Regions from separate parts of the Homo sapiens genome. Here regions 1, 2, 3, 5, 6 and 7 are each linked to region 4. Evidence: promoter capture Hi-C in 16 types of primary human blood cells and fetal thymus (Javierre and others, 2016). All regions are on one chromosome and are shown on one strand. The core of a region is centred on a gene start or on the middle of the fragment in contact, and the rest is flanking DNA. Distances in the headings are between cores, read along the strand shown.

Region 1 (2,979 bases), core at 381-2,880, 2.3 Mb before region 4:
GTAGGAGAATTGTGATAATTGACTGGCGATTACACACCACAAGTGTCCCAACTACTCCCTCATTTAATCCCCACAACATCCTCACAAGCACAGTTCTCAACTTCGTTTGCAAATTTGAATCACCTGGTTCCTGGTGACTCAATGTGTTATCCCTGCACTGGAAGCCCCAACCTCATTTGGGAGCTTGTTCGAAATGTCTCAGGGTTGGGCGTGGTGGCTCATGCCTGTAATCCCAGCACTTTGGGAGGCTGAGATGGAAGGATCACTTGAGTCCAAGAGCTGGACACCAGCCGGGGCAACATAGTGAGCCCTTGTCTCTGTAAATACATACATACACACATACATACATACATACATACATACATACATACATACATACATAAAATAAAAATTTTTTAAAAAGAAATGTCTCAGGCCCTCAAGTCTCAGGGCCCAGCTCAGAACTCCTTAATCCAAATCTTCATTTTAACGACCCCTAGAGTTGGTTTGTGTGCACCTTAAAACTTGAGAAGCCCCAGAGAGCCTTACAGATTATAGCTGTCTAGGTCCCTGGCACAGAGATTCTGATGTGGTAGGTTTAAAGGGCTGGCTGGCTTGGGCTTTTTAAGCTCCCAGGTGATTCTGATATGCAGCCATGAGTGAGAACCACCACTTTTGGGGAGTGGTATGAACAGTTCTGTTTCATGAAGAGTGATTTAACTGAGATTTACTCTGAGTTATCTCTGAGGCCATTGTTTGCTGTTTTATATTAATATATATTTCTCTCTAGGTGTTCATTCTTCTTCACTTGCTCTTGTTCTATGGCTTGCTCTCATCTTTCTCTTACTAATTCTCCCAAATTCCAAAGACCATAGGCCAGCAGGAGAGCCTCAGCCCAAGGCTTTTTATTTTATTATCATGATATCATCCACAAGATAATAGGGCCAGGGCTTTTAGTGGGCGCACTAAAGAATAAGAGGTTAATAATACTGCTGAAGGTCATACAGTAAATGAGAAAGCTTGGTTTGTGCCTCCTGGCACAGGGATTTTTGGATATCAGTGCAGGCAATGCACATCCAAGATGCTGTAGAGCAGCACTTCTCAAACTCTTCGGTGCACACAAATCACCTGGGATCTTGTTAAATGCAGACTCTGGTTCAGTAGGCCTGGGTAGGGACCAAGGATGCATTTCTAACAAACTCCCAAGTAAACCGATGTTACTGAGTTGCAGTGTGTTCAGCCAAAGCAACCGATTATGATCCTAGCTGCTCCTCCATCACTTCCCAGCCTCTGACTGGGTGTTCATTGTCTCTCACCTGCCAGATGATTCAGATCAATGTTTCAAGTTGTGTCATTGGACTGAGCTCTGAAAACCTCCATGCCAGGCCTAAGATGCCACTGGGTGGCGCTCTGGTGCACCTCCCTATGGCATTTCCTGTTGCCGCACAGCTGTTGGGTGTTCACCATTCAACAACAATTCAACAAATATTTATTGAGCCTAACTGTAAGTCAAGTTTAAACAAGACAGACAAGGTCCTCATGAGGGGCTTACATTGTACTGACAATAAACAAGTAAATGTATAAAAGAAATCGTTACAAATTTTGATAAGCACTTTGGAGGACATAAACTAGGGAACAGATAGGGAAGCTGGGAGAGGTGGTTGGGAAAGACCTCTCTGAAGAGGTGATATTCAAGCTGTGACTTAAACGATAATAATAAGGCTGTCAGGTGAGGGCAAAAGGAAAATATTTCAGGCAGAGGGAACAGCAAGTGGGAAAGGGAGTGGCTGTTCGAGGAGAGGCATGAGGCTGGGGCAGAAAGCCCAAAGAGAAGCAACGGGAGACGCAGGGGACATGTCCATCCAGTAGGGCTGGCTGGGATGGGGAAGGGGAACAGTGAGTTTTATTTTAAGAGCAAATGAAAATCTTTGAAAGGTTTTCATCAAGAAAGTAACCAGATCTGGTTTCCATTTTTAACTGATGTCTCTGGCTGCTGTTTGGGGGCTACATTGAACAGTAGAGGCTGAAAATTGAAGTAGGGATTGTTACAATAGTCCAGACCAAAGATGCTGCTGCCTTGAACTAGGTGGTGGTGACGATAACAGTGAGATATGGACAGATTTGTTACACAGTTTTAGAAACAGATGTTACATGACTTGCTAGTGGTTTAAGTAAGTTTATCAGTTTGGGTGCTTTTGATTTCAGGTAACAGAAAATGTAAATATTAACAGTCTGAAAAATAAGTGCAACTTACAGATTCCCACAAATGAAAAGTGGAAGAGTGGAAGCTTCATGCAAGGTTTGATCAGGTCTCCAGGTTTATTTTTCTGTGATTCTCAGGTCTGCCCTTTCTCTCTCCCACTCTCTATGTGTCCATTTATTCTTACGCTAACTTTATTAATAACTCCAAGATGGCTCCTAGAACAATATACGTACATGATTGTGAGTTAGTTCTGTTCACATATAGGAGGAAGCAAGCATCATTCCCAATAACCATAAAATAAAAATCTTGAGTTGGGGCTTGATTCGACCACTTCTAAACAAATCCCTGTTTCCAGGAGAATTAAAATGATAGTTGGCTTAATACTCCCATTAATCCCCAGCTGCCAATGGACTGATTAGCTTAGCTTAGATGGGATTTATTGGAAACCATCACCATAGGTAAGAGGGTGAAATTATTTTAATTTGCTTGTACCAATAAAGGTACGGGTGTAGTCAGACCTACACAAATGACATAGTTGCTGAGTAGTGGGAGAGGGCAGAATGGATGCTGTAGAGAAAATTTCCATTTCCATTTGTAAATGAGGTGAGAATCGAGGACATGGGAGTACATAAGGATGGTACCTAGGGTTTTGGAGGTGCCATATACCAAGATGAGGAAGACAAACCAGGCTTGGGGGAGAATAAATACAGATGCCTCTTAGATACTCAGGTATTTGGATCTAGTGAGCATTTAGGTCTAGTGAGCATCTGGAAATATGAGCAAGAGCTGAAGGGAGT
Region 2 (3,121 bases), core at 387-2,886, 2.4 Mb before region 4:
AAAGCCATTTAAATTCTTGTAGAGGTGGACAACAGGGGAAGGGCAAGCCTCTGAGACCATCTTAGAAGAGTACACAATATAATAAATGCAAAGTGACCAATGTACTAGTAATGTCTGCCCAGAGTGGAACTCAATCACCCATAACTATGATTAAACTACTCTTTTGGCCTACTTGCGGTACTATTGCTAAAATGGTGTAACCTAATAGCTAACAAACTCATCATTATTATCCTTTTTATTTTTTGTAGAGATGGGGTCTCATTATGTTGCCCAGACTGGCCTTGAACTCCTGGCCTCAAGCAATCCTCCTGCCTCAGCCTCCTGACTATCTAGGGTTAAGGGCATGAGTCACTGCACGCAGCTACTACTATCCATCTTTTAAAGATACTTGCAGGCTGGGCGTGGTGGCTCACGCCTGTAATCCCAGCACTTTGGGAGCCCAAGGTGGGTGGATCACCTGAGGTCAGGAGTTCAAGACCAGCCTGGCCAACATGGTGAAACCTCATCTCTACCAAAAATATAAAAATTAGCCAGTCATGGTGGCAGGCACCTGCAGTCCCACCTACTCAGAAGGCTGAGGCAGGAGAATCACTTGAACCCAGGAGGCAGAGGTTGCAGTGAGCCAACATCGTACCACTGCACTCCAGCTTGGGCTACAGAGCCAGACTCTGTTTCAAAAAAAAAAAAAAAAAAAAAAAAAAAAAAGATCCATGCAGTTCCCACACTTGTGCATCTCTGATCATGTGGCTCAGAACTGAAATGTCCAGATGACAGTGCTTTATTACAAGCACACCCACCATTCCAGTAAATCTAAAGAAGTCTAGTGCTAAAATATATGAAATTTTTTAACTAAAAAGATTTTCATTTTTTTTAAATTATCAGTGTGCTTGACACTTAAAACCGACATATAAGGTAATATAAAATGAGTGCTTTCCACCCATAAGCATTTATGTACTAAAAAGATAAGCAAGGCAAGATGTAAAACATAGAAGTTAAAAATGAAAATAGTGTTGGGGCTGCTATTTGACAAGAACATTTTCAAACATGGCAGGTGAACTTCAACAGGGACTGATACCAAATAATTCACTCTGAAAATAAATATATAATCTATATTTACAGAGTAATGAGCTCAGAACCATCTGTTATAAACCAGTAAGGAAGACATTATAAACTACTGAAATGAGACACTAATTCAATATGATAGAGGGTGGAAAAAGTGAGACATTAACAAAAGCAGACTACAAATAGAATATAAGAAGGTATCCTAGACCACATAGTATCTATAATGTATAAAGATCTATTTTATTCACCTCAAGAAAGATAATTGAATTTATAAAAAGAAAAAACAGAGAGAGGGGTAACTAAAAATCATGAAATGAGACTCTGGTTGTTTAACTCTGAATACCAATAATAAAAGTAATAAATATTAGCAATTATCATGCACGTACTGTATTTAGAAATCTAATCCATGTTATTTCATGTAATCATCATAGGAATCTCATGAGACACATGTTACAGTCTTCATCTTATAGATGATGCATTAGTCTGCTCAGGCCGCTGTAACAAAATACCACAGACTGGGTGATTTAAACAATATACATTTATTTTTCTCACAGTTTGGGAAGCTAGAAGTCCAAGATCAAGGTGCCAGCCAGGTTGGTTCCTGGTGAAAGGTCTTTTCCTGTCTTATAGAAGGCCAACTTCTCACTGTGTCTTCACATGGCAGAGACAGAGAGAGATCTCTGGTTTCTCTTCATCTTCTGATAAGGACACCAGTTCTATTGGATCAACCCCCAACCTTATGATCTCCTTTAACCTTAATTCTATCCTTGGAGACCCCATCTCCAAATTCAGTCACATTGGGGGTTAAGGTTTCAATATATGAGTTGTCTGGGGGACACAATTCAGTCCACAACAGATGAGAAACTTGAGATCTACTCCTCTACCCTACCCTGGTCCCTGGGAGGCTGACCCCTGGGAACTGTATTGTCCTAGCTCCTTCTGTGTTAGAGTTGGGTTCAGCCATCAGGAGGAAATTAGAGGGTGAGAGGTTGAGATATTTATCCCTTTGGTTCCCATCCTGCCATGCCATGGTTGAATGGTGGCTATGGCACCTGTTTGGTGATCCTTCTCCTATACCTCCAATCCCTGCCAGGATCCACTAACTGTTCCCACCCATTGTTCCTCTAGGACCAACATGGTAACGGCTTCCCACTGCTGCTAATTCCAGGGTGCTTTACTATCCGTTCTGTTTCTGTTATCCCAGCATACACATTTGTCAATAGTGATTGTGTTAGACATTCTTCAATCGCCTCTTTTTGATGTACCATCTGTTTCCTACCAGATGCTAATAAAATAAGTGGTACCCAGGAGAAAAACCTTCAAAATAGGATTCTAAAATTGCTCACACATTTGATTAGAGGACAGATCACCTCTTTTGCAGACATGTGGTGCCATCATAATTACCCAAATTGTTACTGGTAGTGACAAGGGATGAAGTGTAGGTCCAGAGAAATTAATTGGGAGATAATTGTGGCATCTAGTTGCCAAGGCAAAAAGGTGGCACCTGTTTGGTAAGGCAGCAGAGGTCATGAGTACATGGCCAAGGAAAACCAAGTGACTTCAGGACCCAGGATCATAAACTGGGTGTTGCCTGATCCTCCAAATCAATAAGATTGGACATTCTCAACATTATTCCTTTGTTAACGGAAACAGTATTTACAGGAACAGTCTCAAGCAGGTTTTGAGGACGCAAATAACTGCTTGGGTAAATGCCTGAGACTCTCATGGTATCTTTTGTTCCTGCTTTGCCACCTTTTTCTCAACCCAAATCTATGATTTCATGGACCTTTTTCTATTACCAGTTAACCTAAGAGCATAAGCATGGGCCTAACCTATAGTTGGGTCTGCATGTTGCTATATTACAGCCCTAACTCAGGGACAGCCTTGAAAGACAGTGATGAAAATAAGTCTTCCCAGTGGGGAAGAAAGAGCTTAGGAGAAAAGACCATTTGAAAGTTCAATTTGCACTAAAGGAGATAGGGACTAAAATACAGGTCTACACTGACTCTTGGACAGTGGCTACAAGATTGGCCAACTGGTAAGAATTTGAAAAAACAAG
Region 3 (3,310 bases), core at 435-2,934, 2.4 Mb before region 4:
ATACCAGGAGGGTTTTATATCTAGTACGCATCATTTGAGAGTTGTTTTTGTCTGGTATGTTTAGAAAAATTAAAAACTGAGGATAGAGAAAGTTGTGCTAAAAATGTTGCTGCGAAATAACAAAAAACTGAGAGGAGTCCTAATAGAAGTGTTCTGTGTAGAAATTTCACCCACTGTTTTGCCTAGAGCAAAAAGTATTTTTAAATTATTCATCATCATGAGATAGTATACCTTATTAACCATATAACTTGATCTAGAAATGTTATTCTTTAAGCTAGTATTGAAAATTCAGTATAAAGATAGCTTTGTGCCTAGTCTATGAGGTAAACGACATTTAAGAAAAAGGTAACTTATTCTTCTTAGCACTGAAATAATGCATTATCTAAGTTTTTTTTCAATTAAGGAGTTCCATTTACCTTTGTTGAATTACTGGTAAATTTTTTACGAAATTGTTTATAAATATCTGACAACTAAAATTACTTATTTATAAGCTGTTAGCAGTCCTTATTACATAAAGAAACAGCAGTGTCTGTCTTAGAAGTTCCCACATTTTAAGTTTATCATCATATGCTTTCCCTTTTGACAGCAGTAGGTTTGACCTTGAGTTATTTGTTTTAAGCTTGTTTATCTCAATTATTATATGAATGTTGTAGAAACTAGTGGTAAGCTCAGATTCAAATAGCTACATGGAATTTGATGGTTACTAAATAAGTAGATTAGTGTTTGCTTGTGAGTGTGATTGATTAGGAATAGTGTTAATGTTGTGATATAGAATTTGAGTAGTCACCAATTTGGGCTGTAGAATTTGGTGGGGGTAGTATTATCTAAAGGCAGAACTTTTTGAATCATAGTGCTTAAACAGTAAGGTATAATATAAAGTGGCATGTTAGAAGTGATATTTTCCTTTTGCTTGTTATTTAGTAAATACTTAATGAGCACTTCCTCTTTCTCCAGGTGTGATGGGTGCAGTGGTGGCTCCTCTGACAATATTAGGGGGTCCTCTTCTCATCAGAGCTGCATGGTACACAGCTGGCATTGTGGGAGGCCTCTCCACTGTGGCCATGTGTGCGCCCAGTGAAAAGTTTCTGAACATGGGTGCACCCCTGGGAGTGGGCCTGGGTCTCGTCTTTGTGTCCTCATTGGGTAAGCTGCTGTGTTTTAACACTTAATTCTTGGTGCATAGTTTCCTGTAACCTGAAATACTCCAATATCCTAATTGATTGAGTCATTTATTTTAAAAGTTTTTTTAAAGATTTATGCTAATTTGACTGGATTTTACTACCTGACATCATATAAAAATCATGGCAACATGGTCAACCATTATTACTGGCTTTACCAAACACATCTAAAATGGGAAAGTTGGTCTGGAGAACATGAATATTGCTCTGATGCAAGAACCTTCCTGTGAAATGGGCAAGTGGCTCATTGGAGGAATGAGTATCATGGATTTTGAACTAATGCAAATAAGATTAGACAGTACATGTACCCAGATGTCGTCTTACCTACACAGTATACCAAGGAGATTTTTTTTTAAGTAATATAAATCATAAACTCAGTTATCGGAAATCCTTTTTTAAAAAAAATCTTGTTTTCGCATTTTGATTTCAGGATCTATGTTTCTTCCACCTACCACCGTGGCTGGTGCCACTCTTTACTCAGTGGCAATGTACGGTGGATTAGTTCTTTTCAGCATGTTCCTTCTGTATGATACCCAGAAAGTAATCAAGCGTGCAGAAGTATCACCAATGTATGGAGTTCAAAAATATGATCCCATTAACTCGTAAGTAATGCTTTTTATTTAACACTGTTACTCTGTCACATAAGGATGCTTGTGTGTATTTGACCTGTTTTGGTTTATGGCTGTATTAGTTTTCTAGGGATACTGTTAACAAAGTATCGCAGACTGGGTGGCTTAAAACAAAACTTGATTCTCTTGTAGTTCTGGAGGCCAGAAATCTAAAATCAAGGTGTTAGCAGAGTTGTACTTCTGAGGGCCCTGAGGGAAAATCTGTTCCCTGCCTCTCAGCTTCTTGTTACTGCTGGCAGTCCTTGACATTCCTTGGCTTGTAGATGGATCATTCCAGTCTCTGTCTCCATCTTCACATGGTGCTCTTCCTGTGTACCAGGGATTAGGATTTCATTATATTTTGTTGGGGGGCAGAGGAGGGTCACAGCTCAAACCACACCAATGGCTTTGTCAGATTTCCTGTTTTACTTCTGTTGCAGTTTTGTCTGTTCTCTCTTTAGTAAACTATCCAAAAAAACCTCTTGATTTTATTGCAACTTAGTGTAATACTTAGGTATTCATTCCATTATCAGAATATTTTGTCTATTTTTGTGAGCCAGTGTCAGGGTGCAATAAATAATGTGCTCTTACTGCTCAGTTAATTTTTTTGGTAGTGTATTTTGCAGACTTTAAAACTGAAGAAATGTATTAATCAAGTATTATTTATTGGAAAATGTATATAATTGACATGGAATTTTTAATAGAAAAGCCTATTTTATACTTCTAGAAATTAGAAACTCTTCAGTATAAAGAGTCTAGTTTCAGAGATATGCAACTTTAGTTGGTATTAATTGTTATTATGTTTTTTTCTTTTTTCTTGGAGTCGACCAAAGTGGGTTATTTTATTTAAACAATTTTCTTGAGTTTCATTGTGTCTGTCACATTTTTTTAAAGTAATTTGATTTTATCTAAAAATAAAACTTAATGTAATGGTTTAGGGGGAAGAAAAAGTTGCTGTACTGTAAAGCTTACAGATTTGTAGAAGTTTTCTTTAGAGGGGTGAAGTGGGTCTTTTATATTAAAAAATGCTAGACTTGTGTCTAACAGGTTTTTATAAAGGTGTTTCTTTGGTCTTGTTTTGATTATTTCATTGTCTGCCACCTAGTTTTCTTTGCAAGTTGATATATGCAGAGTGTCAGAGAATAAAATAATGATTTTTTTAAACTGCTCTTTAACATTTAAAAGATGAGTCTGCCAAAAGGAAGACCTTAACTATTTTCTAGTCTAGTACTTCATTAGTTGGCAGTTAAACATCTTATTTTTAATTTCCATTTTATATCACTAAGACAAATAGTATTTTTCTTCTTTTCTATATTAAGAATTCAACATCACTATTAGAATTGCATCATATATAATGGGCATAATTTTCTTTTCTAGGATGCTGAGTATCTACATGGATACATTAAATATATTTATGCGAGTTGCAACTATGCTGGCAACTGGAGGCAACAGAAAGAAATGAAGTGACTCAGCTTCTGGCTTCTCTGCTACATCAAATATCTTGTTTAATGGGGCAGATATGCA
Region 4 (3,353 bases), core at 834-3,333:
AAAAATCGATTCTCTGTTCCTTCAAGAATGTAAAGCTGAGATCCTGCAGGTCTGTAAGTGTACGTACACATACACACCAACAAAGATGGAATGTTTTGGATTCACTTATGTGCTAATCATCTAAAAATACTAACCAAAGGCCAAACCAAAAATCTAGACTTGAGTTCCTTTATGCCAACATCAGAAAAACTGTTAAAATGGTTCTATAACCACAAAGCATTCACTGTTGAAAGTTTGAAGTCTTCAGATGAATACCTGACACTAAGGACTTAATTATTTTATGTGATAAAAAATAATTTTGTGCTGGCTGGGGGCGGCAGGTCACGCCTGTAATTCCAGCACTCTGGGAAGCCAAGACGGGCAGATCACCTGAGGCCAGGAGTTCGAGACCAGCCTGACCAACATGGAGAAACCACGTTTCTACTAAAAATAGAAAATTAGCCGGGCGTGGTGGCGCATGCCTGTAATCCCAGCTACTCCGGAGGCTGGGGCAGGAGAATCAATTGAACCTGGGAGGCGGAGGTTGCGGTGAGCTGAGATCGCGCCACTGCACTCCAGCCTGGGCAACAAGGGCGAAACTCCGTCTCAAAATAATAATAATAATGATAATAATAATTTTGTGCCAAAAGACCACGTCTTTTACAAATACATAGTGAAATACTGATGAAATAACGTCAGCGATTTTCCAACATTAAGGAATGAGAAGTGTATAGATGAAATAAATTTGTTTAATAGTCACTGCTAAATCCAAGCGATGGGTACAGAGAAGTTCATTATATAATATCTCCTCCTGATTGCCTTTATCGTTTCCCACAATAAAATGTCTTTGCAATGGCATTATCTAAGCGTAAAGCACTACAGATTCCAAAATAAGTGTGCAGACGTCCTTGAAGTTAAATTTTAAGTGTTTCAAGTACACAATCTTGCTCAACCTTTAAACTCCAAAGACTGTCCTAACTAAAAAGGAAAGAATGATTGACGACTAAGTCTTTTCGGTCGTTCGGCTTTTGCCCTAGCCCAAAATCAGGTCGAATTTTGAGAGAAGTGCGCTGTGATTTAAAAAAAAAAAAAAAAAAAAAAAAGCAAAAAGCCTTTATACTTCACTCCCACCCTAATCTAGCGTCTTCCCGATCCCCAAAGGCTTTAAGGGCTTCCATTAAAGATGGAAAGCGGACGGGACGAACCTGACTAACCAGAAATCCTCACCTGGGGACAGCCGGGGCGCCACGGGCAGTGGGCGCGATGGACCCCTCGGACTAGACACTCAATGCAACTTTTCTCCTCCCAACCCGCGCCGCCCAGGAAAGGGAGGTCACTTTCGACGCCCCGGAAGCCTCTGCCACCGAATCCTTAAGGCAGTGCAAGGCCCCAGTGGCGGCCAGAGGCGGATGAAACCACGGGAAAGGACTCGGGGCTGAAATCAACACACTTGACTGGGTTTGGGGAGCTAAGTCAATCAGCAGTCGCCCGAAAAAGAACTCCGAAAAAGGAAAATAAAAGGGGAAAAAAAGAGTTCCTCAGGTCATTCCCCTGCCCAACTTCCTCAGCGGCCCGGTGGGCGAGGCAGTGAGACTTCCACCGCCCGCTCCCAGCCTCTGCCTCCCCCACCCTCCCGGCTCCCTCCCGGCCTAGGCGGCCGCCCGACACCTCACTTACCCTCGGAGCCTGGCGGGTGCTTTGGCCACGGGCCGCCTCCGCCTCTCCCGCTCCCTACGGCCCGCGGGCGGGCGCGGAACCCTCGCGCGGGAGAGCAGGGCCGGCAGGTGAGAGCCGAGAGAGGCGAGGGACTCTGCTTTCGGTAAATAGGAAGCCCGGTTGGGGGGGCAGGAGCGGCGGCCCCGCAACTTCCCTCCCCGCCTCGAGCGCCGCCGGCCGGGCCCAGGCCTAGCTCTCGCTGGCCGCCACTGCTGGAGCTGGTAACAGAGCCTGCTGTGTGCCCCCGCTGGGCCGCCGCCGCCTCCTGCGCCGCCGCTTCCGCCGGTGAATGGTCAGTGCTGGAGTTTGAACAGGGCCCTGAACCATCTCAACGCCATTTGCGCTCCCGGCCCCCACCTCCTTCCTCCAACAGCCGCTCGCTCCGTCACTCCGCTTCCCACAGTCCCCGCGCGGCCGCCCGACCCCGCAGCCAATCGCGCAGCCGCTTACTCAAACCGCCGCGCAGGCGCTGCGCCCCGCATGCTCCGGCGCCCGCCATTGGCCCGGCCGCGGAGCCCGACGGGAGTTGTAGTCCAGGTCCGCGAGGTCGCGGGCCGAGGACCAGGCGCGGGAGCGGGAGCGGGCGACTGGCCGGGCCCTCCCGGTCTCGGCAGCCACTTCTAGCTCCCGGCCCAGCCGGGAGACGCAGGTGCCACGGAGATGGGCAGCCGGGCGGGTGGCGCAGTGCAGGCAGCTGTATCAATCGCTTCCCCTCCAGGGACCCGCCGGTGCCTGGGGACCGCGGGCTGTGCAGCTGTGCCGGGCCTGCGGAGGCCGCCGCCCGGGAGCTGGGAGGCAGGGGGCGCGTGGTCAAGAGCCGCCCTCGACCTGGCCTGGTCGGTCCTGGCCCGGCGTAGGTGACGATGGCGGGGACCGCGAGGCGCCGGACACCCGAGGCCACGAGCAGCGTCGCCCCTCGCTTTTTCGCGCCCCTCCAGCCCTGCAGTCCTTCCTCTAAGTCCGTCTGCCCCTCACCGATTGAAAGTGGCCCCGAGAATATTGGATGGTATTGAGCAATTATCATTAACTTTGTTGGGTGTGGTAACGGTAATGTGGTTATGGTTTTTTGTTTTTTTTTTTTTAAGACCTACTGATGTGTTGACAGAGTGATCTGGTGTCAGGACTGTAAAATACGCCTATGAAAACTGGGGGAGAGGAATAAAACAAGCTGGCAGAACGTTTTTCATCGTTGAAGCTGCGTGATGCGAGCATATGTGCTCATCATACAGTCTCTTTACTTGTGTATCTGAAATTTTCCATAATAAAAAGTTTAAAGAAGTGAACCAGCGATTGCCTCTAGGGAGGACAGTGAGGTGGCGGATGACGGGAGGAAGGAGTCTTAATTTTTCGCTGTACGCCTTTTTGTGCTATCTTAGGTTTTTCCCATTCAATGTGTTACCTAATTCAGAAAATTGGTAAGTTTTTTTTAAGGCTACCATGGGAAAACAGCGTTCTAAAGAGTAGCGCAACCAGTTCCCCCTAAGAGAGGTGCATGATTCGTCGGACTCCGACAGCCTTGGTGTTTGTTAGGCGGTTAATGGAGACCCACCTGGGAAATTAGAAAACTACTAATTGCTTTCAGTGAGAAGCCCGCCCTTCTCCCACAAATGGATAATTTGCTTTTAATGCACCCAGAAGTTATCCAGCTCCCTCCGGTA
Region 5 (3,083 bases), core at 584-3,083, 2.2 Mb before region 4:
CGTTCTATTGAGTTTTCATCACTGCTATATCTTTTTCATTTTGAAGGACTCTTTTGTGTTTTTTATGACATTTATTCTTGTTTCATGGATGCAATATTTTTTCTTATTTCTCTGGATGTATCACTTATAGTTTTTAGGAATGAAGCATAAGGGGGCTAGTTTTCTTCCTCTTGGAGTTTCCAGATCCTTTCAGGTTTATTTGCCTGGGTCTCTATTTTCCATGTTAGAGGTTGTCCTCTAGTGTCTTGCAATTTTGGTTTCTTATTTGTTGTTAAATGGGGAGGGCAAAATAACAGATCCTACCAAACAATATTGAATTCTGTATATGTATAAAAGAGAAATTACCTTCTTTTTCAAATGAACATAAAACATTCATGAAAATTGACCAAATATTAGGCCACCAAGAAAATCTCAAGAAATTCCAAAGAATAGAAATTAAAAATTGTGGCCGGACATGGTGGCTCATGCCTGTAATCCCAGCACTTTGGGAGGCTGAGGCGGGTGGATCACTAAGTCAGGAAATCGAGACCATCCTGGCTAACATGGTGAAACCCCGTCTCTACTAAAAAATATAAAAAATCAGCCAGGTGTGGTGGCGGGCGCCTGTAGTCCCAGCTGCTCAGGAGGCTGAGGCAGGAGAATGGCGTGAACCCGGGAGGCGGAGCTTCCAGTGAGCCGAGATCGCGCCACTGCACTCCAGCCTGGGCGACAGAGTGAGACTCCGTCTCAAAAAAAAAAAAAAAAAAAAAAAGAAAAGAAAAGAAATTAAAAATTGCATTATCTGATCATAATGCAATAAAACTAGAAATTAATGACAGATTTTTTTAATCTGAAAATTCCTTTTTCCTGGTAATTTAAAAATACTCCTTTAAGCAGCTCCTTGGAAAATGAAAAAATAAAATTATTGAATTTCTTGAAAATAATAATAAAACCAAGACATATAATCTCTGTAATAATGCTAAAGTAGCTGTGTTTGTTGTTATGATATGTATATTGTTCTTTGTCCACAGTTCCTGGCGCATAACTCCCATAACTTTTGTTAGTCTTCTGTTACAATGTTGGGTGTGTTAAGTCTCAGGAAACAGAATCTCTCTGACCTTCTCCTCCCCTTCTTTCACCTGCCCAAAGGCAGGACTCTAATCTTTCCTCGTTTCTGACTGTGAGTCCTAAAACCCTTATTCCAGAGAGGGTTCCACTCCATTCCCTGGGGGAAGAATGCTGAGGTCCCGAAGCTTCCATGAAAAGCCAAGATGCCTGAGTTCAGAGAGGTTCCAGGTAGCTGAATACATGGAAGTTTCTGAGGAGTGGCACACCCCTTCCCCCCTACCTCTGCCTATGCATCTTTTCATCGGTATCCTTTGTTACATCCTTTAAAATAAACCATTAGGCCGGGCGTGGTGGCTCACACCTGTAATCTCAGCACTTTGGGAGGCCGAGGCGGGTGGATCATGAGGTCAGGAGTTCAAGACCAGCCTGACCAATATGGCGAAACCCCGTCTCTACTAAAAATACAAAAATTAGCTTGGCATGGTGGCCAGGCCTGTAATCCCAGCTACTCTGGAGGCTGAGGCAGGAGAATTGCTTAAACCTGTGAGGTGGAGTTTGCAGTGAGTTGAGATCATGCCATTGCACTCCAGCCTGGGCAACAGAGCAAGACTCCATCTCAGAAAAAAATAAATAAAATAAAATAAACCATTAAATATAAGTGTTTCCTTGAGTTCTAAGAGCCACTGCAGCAAATTAATCAAATCCAAAGAGGGTCATGTAACCCCAACATTTTTATTTAATAGAGATGGGATCTCAATGTGTTACCCAGGCTGATGGCAAACTCCTGTCGTCAGGTGATCCTCCTGCTCCCAAAGTGTTGGGATTACAGACATGAGCCACCATCCCCAGCTGGGAACCTCAACTTGAAGCCGATCAGTCAGAAGTTCCAGAGTCTCGGACTTGCCACTGGGTGTCTAAAGGGAGGGAGACTAGCTTAAGGGACTGAGAGCCCTCAACCTGTGGGATCTGATGCTGTCTCCAAGTAGATAGTATCAGAATGGAATTGGAGAATATGCAGCTGGTGTCCACTGCTTGTTGGTGGGGAAAAAACTTCACACATTTGGTCACAGACATTTTCTGTGTCGATTGCTGTGTTGGTGTGAAAGCAGAGGGAAAACATGGTTTGAGAATTTTTCCCAAAGAGCAGTTATTACAGGAAAATTTATGCCTTTAAGTATCTGGCGCAATAAAAATGAAAGCATAAATATAAATAAATTTAATGTCTGAAATAGAAAACAAAATGGCAGAGTAAAACCAAGAGAAGCAAAAAAGGAATTAATAAAGATAAAATTATAAATAATGATTTGGAAAACAGAAGAGTAAAAATAATAAATTTAAAAGCTAGATATTTGAAAAACACAAAAAATACACAAACTCTTATCTAATTTAAGCTTTAAAGAAGAGAAAACACAAATACAAAAATATAGAAATAATAGCATAAAAAATAGAAAGCAATTTAAGAAGAAAGTACTTTGTTCAACTCTGTGCAAATAAGTATGAAAATCTGGAAGAAATGGGTATTTTTTAGACAAATACAACTTACTAAAATTGAAACCAGTAGAAACAGAAAGTCTAAAACTAATTTCTGAGGAGGAAATGAAAAGGCTGAATAGTTCTTTCATAAAAACAAAGAAACACTAAGCCAAATGATATCACAAAGGACTACGTAATCTTTAAGGATCAGCTAATTCCATTGTTACTTAAACTATTTCAGGACATTTCATTTTAGGAAGCGTATTTTTTGTAGAGACAAGAGTCTCTATTAATTATACTATTAATCCCCCAACCTGACAAAGATTGCATTGTTTTTATTCCTATATATTTCAGATTTGTTTGGAATAAATTTCAAAGATTTTTATTCCAATAAAAGAAAACCACAGACAATTCTCCCTTAAGAATTTCAATGCAGAAAACTTAAAATAGACCCTGGCAGCAGATTAAATGATGCATTGTGATCAAGTGGGGTTGATTTTAAGAATGCAGTGTTTCAATGTCAAATTGAAATTTGAGAATGCAAAGTGTTTCATTAATATATG
Region 6 (2,864 bases), core at 12-2,511, 2.2 Mb before region 4:
TGCTTTTAAAAGATGCTATTTCAAAAGTATTATCTTATTATCCATGCCAAGGATTTGGACTTCATTTCTTAGACATTGGAAAGATTAGGTGTTGCAAAGCAAGGGGATGATATGGTATGTTATCTCTTTTAGGGAGATTGCTCATGTGACAATGTGGCTATATATTGAATTATGTTTATAATAGGAAGTGGTTGAAATATTCATGTGAGAAATGAAGGCTAAACCTTGAGGTGGAAGTGGAGATCGGGATATTTTGGAAATATATAGGAATTAGTAACTGATACACAACAGAGTGGGAAGGCAGTGTATTGATTTGGAAGACATTGAGTGGGGTAATGACAGATGAATATGTGCTCACAGCACTTTGTTATATTTCTTTCACAGCGTTGACTGTGATGTATTGTACCTATTCTAGTAACATATCTGTCTCCCCCACTGGATTGTGTGCTTGTCAAAGATAGGGACTGAGTAGAGGAATGAGTGAATATAGGATGAAATAATACAGAAAGGTCAAGAGACTGAACTGGGAAACACCAAATTACCAAAATGAAAGAGTGGGTGGAGGAAGAGTAGCTCTAGAATGTGACAGCTGTCAGGGAGGATGGGGGAAGAGCCATCAGGGAGGAGGCAGAGGGGTAGGGAAGTATTAGCACAGACATGAGCATGTAGAATGCTGCCACCTCAGGCTACAAACAGTTGTGGTTGGTGTGCCCTGCTGTCATAAGCTGATTGTGGTTGTATAGGGTGAACTTGTCTTTCCGTTGTTATTGACTACTTAAGTTTTCTCTGAGTATCTGATGGCTTTCTGCCTCTTTGGCTTCTGACTTCTGCTTGCTACAGGTGCTGATGCTGGGGTGTGATTCAGCCTATTGAGATCAACCAATGAGAACAGTCCTTTCTTTTTAAGTGAATTGACCAATCATAGTATGTGAGATGTAATTTCTGAGTTTTTAGCTCTTCTCTGATGAGTTGATTGGTTTGGAATGTCCTAGAGTTACTTCTCTACCTTTAAAGACTTCTGGTTGATTATATTAAGGTTTGGAGCCATTGGGAAGCCAGAGGATTCTTAAAGGTTGGATCCATGAGCACTGAAGTTTTTTACCTGTTTATTTTTTCAAGTTGATCAGTAGCTTAGTTTCAGTATAGTTGGATCATCTTTGAAGACTGTTGGTCTTAAAAATGCCACAGATTATTCCAAATAATTAAGAATCTCTGTTTTCTTTGTACTTTATAGCTACGTAAGACAGGGGCTTGTTTTAAATTTTCTTGGTCAGCTCCTAACTTACTTCATATGTCTGTTTTTCAAAGAGTTACTTGGTAAAGGAATTTGCTATTGATTTTTTTCTACAACCATTTGCTTCAGGCCATCCTTACCCTCTGTTCTCTGCCTTCTCCTGTTTTCATCTACCCTGTTTCTGTCCTTGATAAGGACAGTGGGAAAGGGAAAAGAGAAAAAGCATGAGGGATTACTCCTTCCTTCCCTTTGTTATGGTAGTTGTTACTGCTCTCCTCCCTGCCATCGCTGCTCCCAGCTGTTCACTTTGGCATGGTCTCCTACCCTGTATCTTGAGTTCTGTGTGTGAGAATAGAAATGCAAGGCATGGCTCTTTAGCTGAGGAACGATGGGCATCTCAGGGTTTTGGTCCTTCTGTGATCTCTCTTTTGGTGCCTGGTATTGAAAAGCCCAGTGACATCTTGTATCTGAGCAAGTGTTTTCTGTTCCCCAGCATTCTACTTCTCTCTCTCTCTTTTTTTTTTTTTTTTTTTTTTTGAGACAGGGTCTCTGGACCCAGGCTGGAGTGCAGTGGTGTCATCATGGCTCACTGCAGCCTTGACCTCCTGGGCTCTAGCTATCCTCCTGCCTTGGCTTCCCAACCTGTACTCAACCTGTAGCTGGGACTACAGGCATGTACCACCATGCCTGGCTAATTTTAAAAATTTTCCATAGAGACAGGGTCTCCCCATGTTACCCAGGCTGGGCTGAAACTCCTGGGCTCAAATGACCCTCCTGCTTTTACCTCCCAAAGTGCTGGGATTACAGGTGTGAGCCACCACAACTGGCCCTGCTTTTCTTTAAAATGCAAAATTAAATTCCAGTCCTGTTTTTTTGAGTTGCCTACCCTCCTCCCCAACACTGCCCCCATGTCAAGATTGCAAAACCTTTGATGACGAAGGCCCTAGTGAATACGCTAGGGACAAAGAAGCAAGACAGATACCAGAAGGTACTTTGAATTGTTGTTGTCATCATATTAATGATATTTCGTTGCAGCCTGAGTGCTTTAGGGCAATTTGAGAGCTTTCTCTGACCATTATCTCTTGGCAGCCAGTGTTAGGGTTGGGAGTTATATAATAATTTTCTCTGAAGATCTTAGCTTAGAAAAACAGGGACTATTCATAATAGCTATTTAAGTCTGTAGAATGGACTTGATGATATTTTGGTCAGAGTTGGTAGGCCACTTTATAGGAAACATCCAGGTGATATTTCTTTTCGGGGTGGGGAGGCAGGGATGGCCATCTTTCTGTTTTGTTTTGTTTCTTTTCCTTATTTAAAATTTTTTCTCAGGTATATTTTCCTCATTTTAGGAGTAGTATGGTATGGCTTGTCAACCTTTATTTATTATTGGTACTAGCTAGAGATGTAGACTTGGCCATTGTTGTGGCCTTTCTTGCAGTCATGTTTTTCCAGGACTTGAGATGTTTTACATTCTAAATTCCTTCAATCCTGGCTTAGAGAATAGATTCTCAGTCTGGATTTTTCTCATTCATTCATTCAAGAAATGTATTCCGAGCACTTGCTAGGAATAGTTCAGTCAACAAAACAAATTTTCTGCCTTTGTGGAGCTTACATTCTAATGACAAGATAC
Region 7 (3,350 bases), core at 546-3,045, 2.2 Mb before region 4:
GGGCCCCAAGCCTTCCCTGTTGCAGTCTTCATGACACTCCTCAGAAGCAGCAACTCCAGCCATGTCTGGAACCATTCCTTACCAGACAGGAGGATATCATGGCCTCAACTCATGATCTGTACCAAGCCAAACCTCTTTTGGGGTACCCACCAAGCCTCAGGCCTCACCTTCTCTGCCCTGTTGTCCCTGCCCATCTGTCCTGGTTTTCTACTAGTTTCCACTACTGGACACTTGTCTGAGGCTGGGTCCCCACCTGGATCTTGTGGCCTCTTGCCCAGGGCTTGGAGGGAAGCTGCTCCCACACTTGAAGATGACAGCTGAGCATGGTCCTTTGTGGGCGTGCTGTCAGGAAGATGACAGTGCAATCTGTTTAATGTGCCAGTTGTCTCTGTGAGTCCCTCATCCGGATGAGCACTTGTCACACCCCTGCAGAGCCCCAGCTGGTTCTTAGAGAGGTGCTCCAGCTCTGTGATTACCTAATCTGGCTTCCCAATCTATCCCACAATGTGTCATTGCTGAGGTCCCTGTGGGTCTTGCAGATAAACTTGCTACAGTCATCCTACACAAAAAAGAAGCTCGTTATCATGAAACCGGCCTGCTTTTTAGCTCCTGGGCCCTAACTCACCCCAGATTGCTGCCAGCTCTTTTGTTTTCCCACTTAGACCAAAGGGATTGAGAAGCTTTCCCATTCCTTGGAGCTGCCACCCTCCATTCTAAGGCAGTCTCCCCCTTCACCCTGCTTGCTGCACCCCAGATGCTGCAAGGCCCATGTGCTGTTTTTGACTTCAGTACTTCAGATTGCTGTGGGAACACAGGAGGCAGCAGCCAGATGAGAAATTGAGTCTGACTCTGGAGTATTATAAAGTCCTTATAGTTACTGGCATTAGGTATAGGGTCTGTATTATTAAAGAGAAATTATTCACCAAACACTTGTTAAAAATGGCAAGACAGTTTATTTAAGAGCATTGCAATAGGTAAGTGCTATGGTCTCAATGTTTGTGTCTCCCTCAAATTCATAAGTTGAAACTTCACTTCCAAGATGAAGGAATTAGGAGGTGGGCACTTTAAGGGATGATTATGTCATAGGCCAGAGCCCTCATGAACGAGATCAGTGCCCTTCTAAAAGAGGCATTGGGAGAGACCCCTCACCTTTTCCATCATATGAGGACACAGCCAGGAAGCATCATCCACGAACCAGAAAATTGGCCCTTACCAGACACTGAATCTGCTGATGTCCTGACCATGGACTTCTGAGCCTTCTGAACTGTGAGAGATAAATTTCTGTTGTTTATAAGCCTTCTGGTTGATGATATTTTGTTATAGCAGCCCAAACAGAAGGGGACAGGGAGAGAGATGGAACTCAACTTCAAATACAAACAGGGACAAGTGGGGCTTTAGAGCCAGTGGGCCCAGTGAGGCAGAGGACAGAGAATTACTATGGGGAACTTGGGATAGGGGAGAGAGACCTGATTAGATATCAAGGGCAGGGGGGATTCCCAATAAACTGCCTCAGCAGAATTTTTGCTAAAACTGGGCTCAGCAGGCCATGGAGGAGGCCTAGTTGAGAAGAGGGCTCAGAGTGTGGTCAATGAGAGAGGCTTTGTCAGTTTCAGTCAGGGTTCTTCAGAGAAACAGAAACAATAAGAAAGAGAAAGATTGAGATTTATTTTAAGGGATTGAGTCATGCAATTGTGGATGCTGGCAAGTCTGAAATCTAGGGCAGGCCCTTTGGATAGAAATTCAGACAAGAGTTGAAATTGTAATCTTGGGCCCAAAGTCTGCAGGGCAGACCAGTGGGCTGGAAATCTAGACAGGATTTCTATGTCAGTTTTGAGGCAGAATGCCTTCTTCCCCTGACACCTCAGCTTTTGCTCCTAAGGCCTTCATCTGATTGGATGAGGCCCACCCACATCATGGAGGGTAATCTGCTTTACTTAAAGTCTGCCAATTGTAAATGTTAATCACATCTACAAAATGCCTTCCTAACAACATCCAGACTAGTTGACCAAACAACTGGCCCCAATCGCCTAGCCAAGTTGACAAGAAAAATTAGCCTTCACAGGGTCTGAAGAGAGTATGTGGACACCTAGACAGGTATGTTCAGTCCATCTTTGCTTCCAAGGGATGCTCACAAGTCTCCCCAGTTGATCCTATTTTTTAGGGAAGACAATGCAGAGGATCCTCCCCCACCCCCATCACCCCTTTCCATAACCTAGAGATAAAAATGAAGTAAGAAAGATTTGTTCCTGGGCCGGGTGTGGTGGCTCATACCTGTAATCCTAGAACTTTGGGAGGCCAAGGTGGGTGGATCACCAGCTCAGAAGTTCGAGACCAGCCTGGCCAACATGGCAAACCCCCATCTCTACTAATAATACAAAAATTAGCCAGGTGTGGTGGCGGGCAACTCTAATCCCAGCTACTCAGGAGGCTGAGGCAGGAGAATCGCTTGAACCTGGGAGGCGGGGGTTGCAGTGAGCCAAGATTGTGTCTCTGCACTCCAGCCTGGGCAACAAGAGCAACAAAAAACAAAAAACAAAAAAATTAAAACAAACAAACAAAAAAAGAGATTTGTTCCTGTACCTCAAGTGGACAACTGATGTCCAGAGACCCACTGGACTGAGAACATCCACCTTCCTCAGTTTCTGACTGCCGAGCAATGATGACTGGGGACATTTCATGCAGGTACATCACCGAGGAGTGAAGAAAGTAGTCACCTGAACCAAATAGTAAGGTCTCTGTCCCAGAGAGCCTGGGGGTTTGGCAAAAATGCTGTGAACACCCATATGGGCATTGCATTGTTAATCTGTACATGTGAACAAGAAAGGATTAGCCCCCAGACCTCATACTCAAGGATGATTGTAGTGGAAAGTCCCACTTCCCATTGTGCTTCTGCTTCCTGATGCTCAAGAATAAGCTTTAGGCTTGACCAAGTGGGGGTGGGAGGAAACACAAACAGAAACTGCCACTACCCTCCCCACAAGTAGAAAAATTTAAGCGTGTCTTGTTCTCTAATGAAGTTTTGTAACAGTAGCCTACATGGTGAAAACAAAGTCGAAGCCGCCTCCAGCGTGCTTAAAACCAGGTTTAAGCTGCTGGCTGCTACTGTTGCTTCACCAAGCACCTTAGTTCCAGGGAATGGGCTTCATCTCTGTTTCACAGAGAAGTCCCCTTTGCCAAAGAATGTGGGTGGCCTACAGAGAAGCAGGGCAGTGAATATACTTTCCCTGCCTTCTGTGATGCATTTTCTTCGTGCAGCTCTAAAGCAAGATTGTTTGTTGTTATAATGACGGCCTTTCCGTCTTTACTTACAACATCCTGTTCTCCCAGGACATTAAAGGCTGGGCTGAGAG

What was found. The method cuts DNA at HindIII sites, captures the fragments that hold promoters and counts their contacts. A CHiCAGO score of 5 or more calls a contact.
Region 1: a contact is called between a fragment that was not itself captured here and the fragment with the promoter of WAPL in region 4, in 1 of 17 cell types (naive CD8 T cells). The highest score is 6.3, in naive CD8 T cells.
Region 2: a fragment that was not itself captured here is called in contact with the fragment with the promoter of WAPL in region 4 in 1 of 17 cell types (neutrophils); the score reaches 7.5 in neutrophils.
Region 3: a fragment that was not itself captured here is called in contact with the fragment with the promoter of WAPL in region 4 in 4 of 17 cell types (activated CD4 T cells, naive CD8 T cells, total B cells and 1 more); the score reaches 8.4 in activated CD4 T cells.
Region 5: a contact is called between a fragment that was not itself captured here and the fragment with the promoter of WAPL in region 4, in 4 of 17 cell types (M0 macrophages, total CD4 T cells, fetal thymus and 1 more). The highest score is 7.0, in M0 macrophages.
Region 6: a fragment that was not itself captured here is called in contact with the fragment with the promoter of WAPL in region 4 in 2 of 17 cell types (fetal thymus and naive CD8 T cells); the score reaches 6.0 in fetal thymus.
Region 7: a fragment that was not itself captured here is called in contact with the fragment with the promoter of WAPL in region 4 in 1 of 17 cell types (M0 macrophages); the score reaches 8.8 in M0 macrophages.

The regions. Positions count from the first base shown.
Region 1 is chr10:84,266,343-84,269,321 of GRCh38, forward strand. No RefSeq gene overlaps it. Among named protein-coding and RNA genes, the nearest start is that of LINC00858, 12 kb to the right of the region's middle. RefSeq lists an enhancer at 2,874-2,979. The HindIII fragment of the contact is 1,269 bases long and covers 997-2,265 here.
Region 2 is chr10:84,129,663-84,132,783 of GRCh38, forward strand. No RefSeq gene overlaps it. Among named protein-coding and RNA genes, the nearest start is that of GHITM, 8.3 kb to the right of the region's middle. The HindIII fragment of the contact is 6,346 bases long and covers 1-3,121 here.
Region 3 is chr10:84,149,101-84,152,410 of GRCh38, forward strand. GHITM (growth hormone inducible transmembrane protein) reads left to right here. Exons shown (of 9, transcript NM_014394.3): 7 at 955-1,143; 8 at 1,609-1,780; 9 at 3,164-3,310. The coding sequence ends at 3,248. Among named protein-coding and RNA genes, the nearest start is that of GHITM, 11 kb to the left of the region's middle. The HindIII fragment of the contact is 2,134 bases long and covers 618-2,751 here.
Region 4 is chr10:86,519,709-86,523,061 of GRCh38, forward strand. WAPL (WAPL cohesin release factor) reads right to left here and starts at 2,084. Exons shown (of 19, transcript NM_015045.5): 1 at 1,657-2,084. It overlaps WAPL-DT (WAPL divergent transcript), which reads left to right and starts at 2,239. Exons shown (of 2, transcript NR_186498.1): 1 at 2,239-2,701; 2 at 2,801-3,353. RefSeq lists silencers at 1,578-1,997, 2,138-2,697. The HindIII fragment of the contact is 16,574 bases long and covers 1-3,353 here.
Region 5 is chr10:84,314,670-84,317,752 of GRCh38, forward strand. No RefSeq gene overlaps it. Among named protein-coding and RNA genes, the nearest start is that of CCSER2, 12 kb to the right of the region's middle. RefSeq lists an enhancer at 1-245. The HindIII fragment of the contact is 1,206 bases long and covers 1,231-2,436 here.
Region 6 is chr10:84,333,481-84,336,344 of GRCh38, forward strand. All of the region lies in intron 1 of CCSER2 (coiled-coil serine rich protein 2), which reads left to right. Among named protein-coding and RNA genes, the nearest start is that of CCSER2, 6.3 kb to the left of the region's middle. RefSeq lists an enhancer at 477-526. The HindIII fragment of the contact is 3,683 bases long and covers 1-2,864 here.
Region 7 is chr10:84,293,364-84,296,713 of GRCh38, forward strand. LINC00858 (long intergenic non-protein coding RNA 858) reads left to right here. Exons shown (of 6, transcript NR_038220.1): 6 at 1-1,296. Among named protein-coding and RNA genes, the nearest start is that of LINC00858, 15 kb to the left of the region's middle. RefSeq lists an enhancer at 1,531-1,770. The HindIII fragment of the contact is 2,234 bases long and covers 679-2,912 here.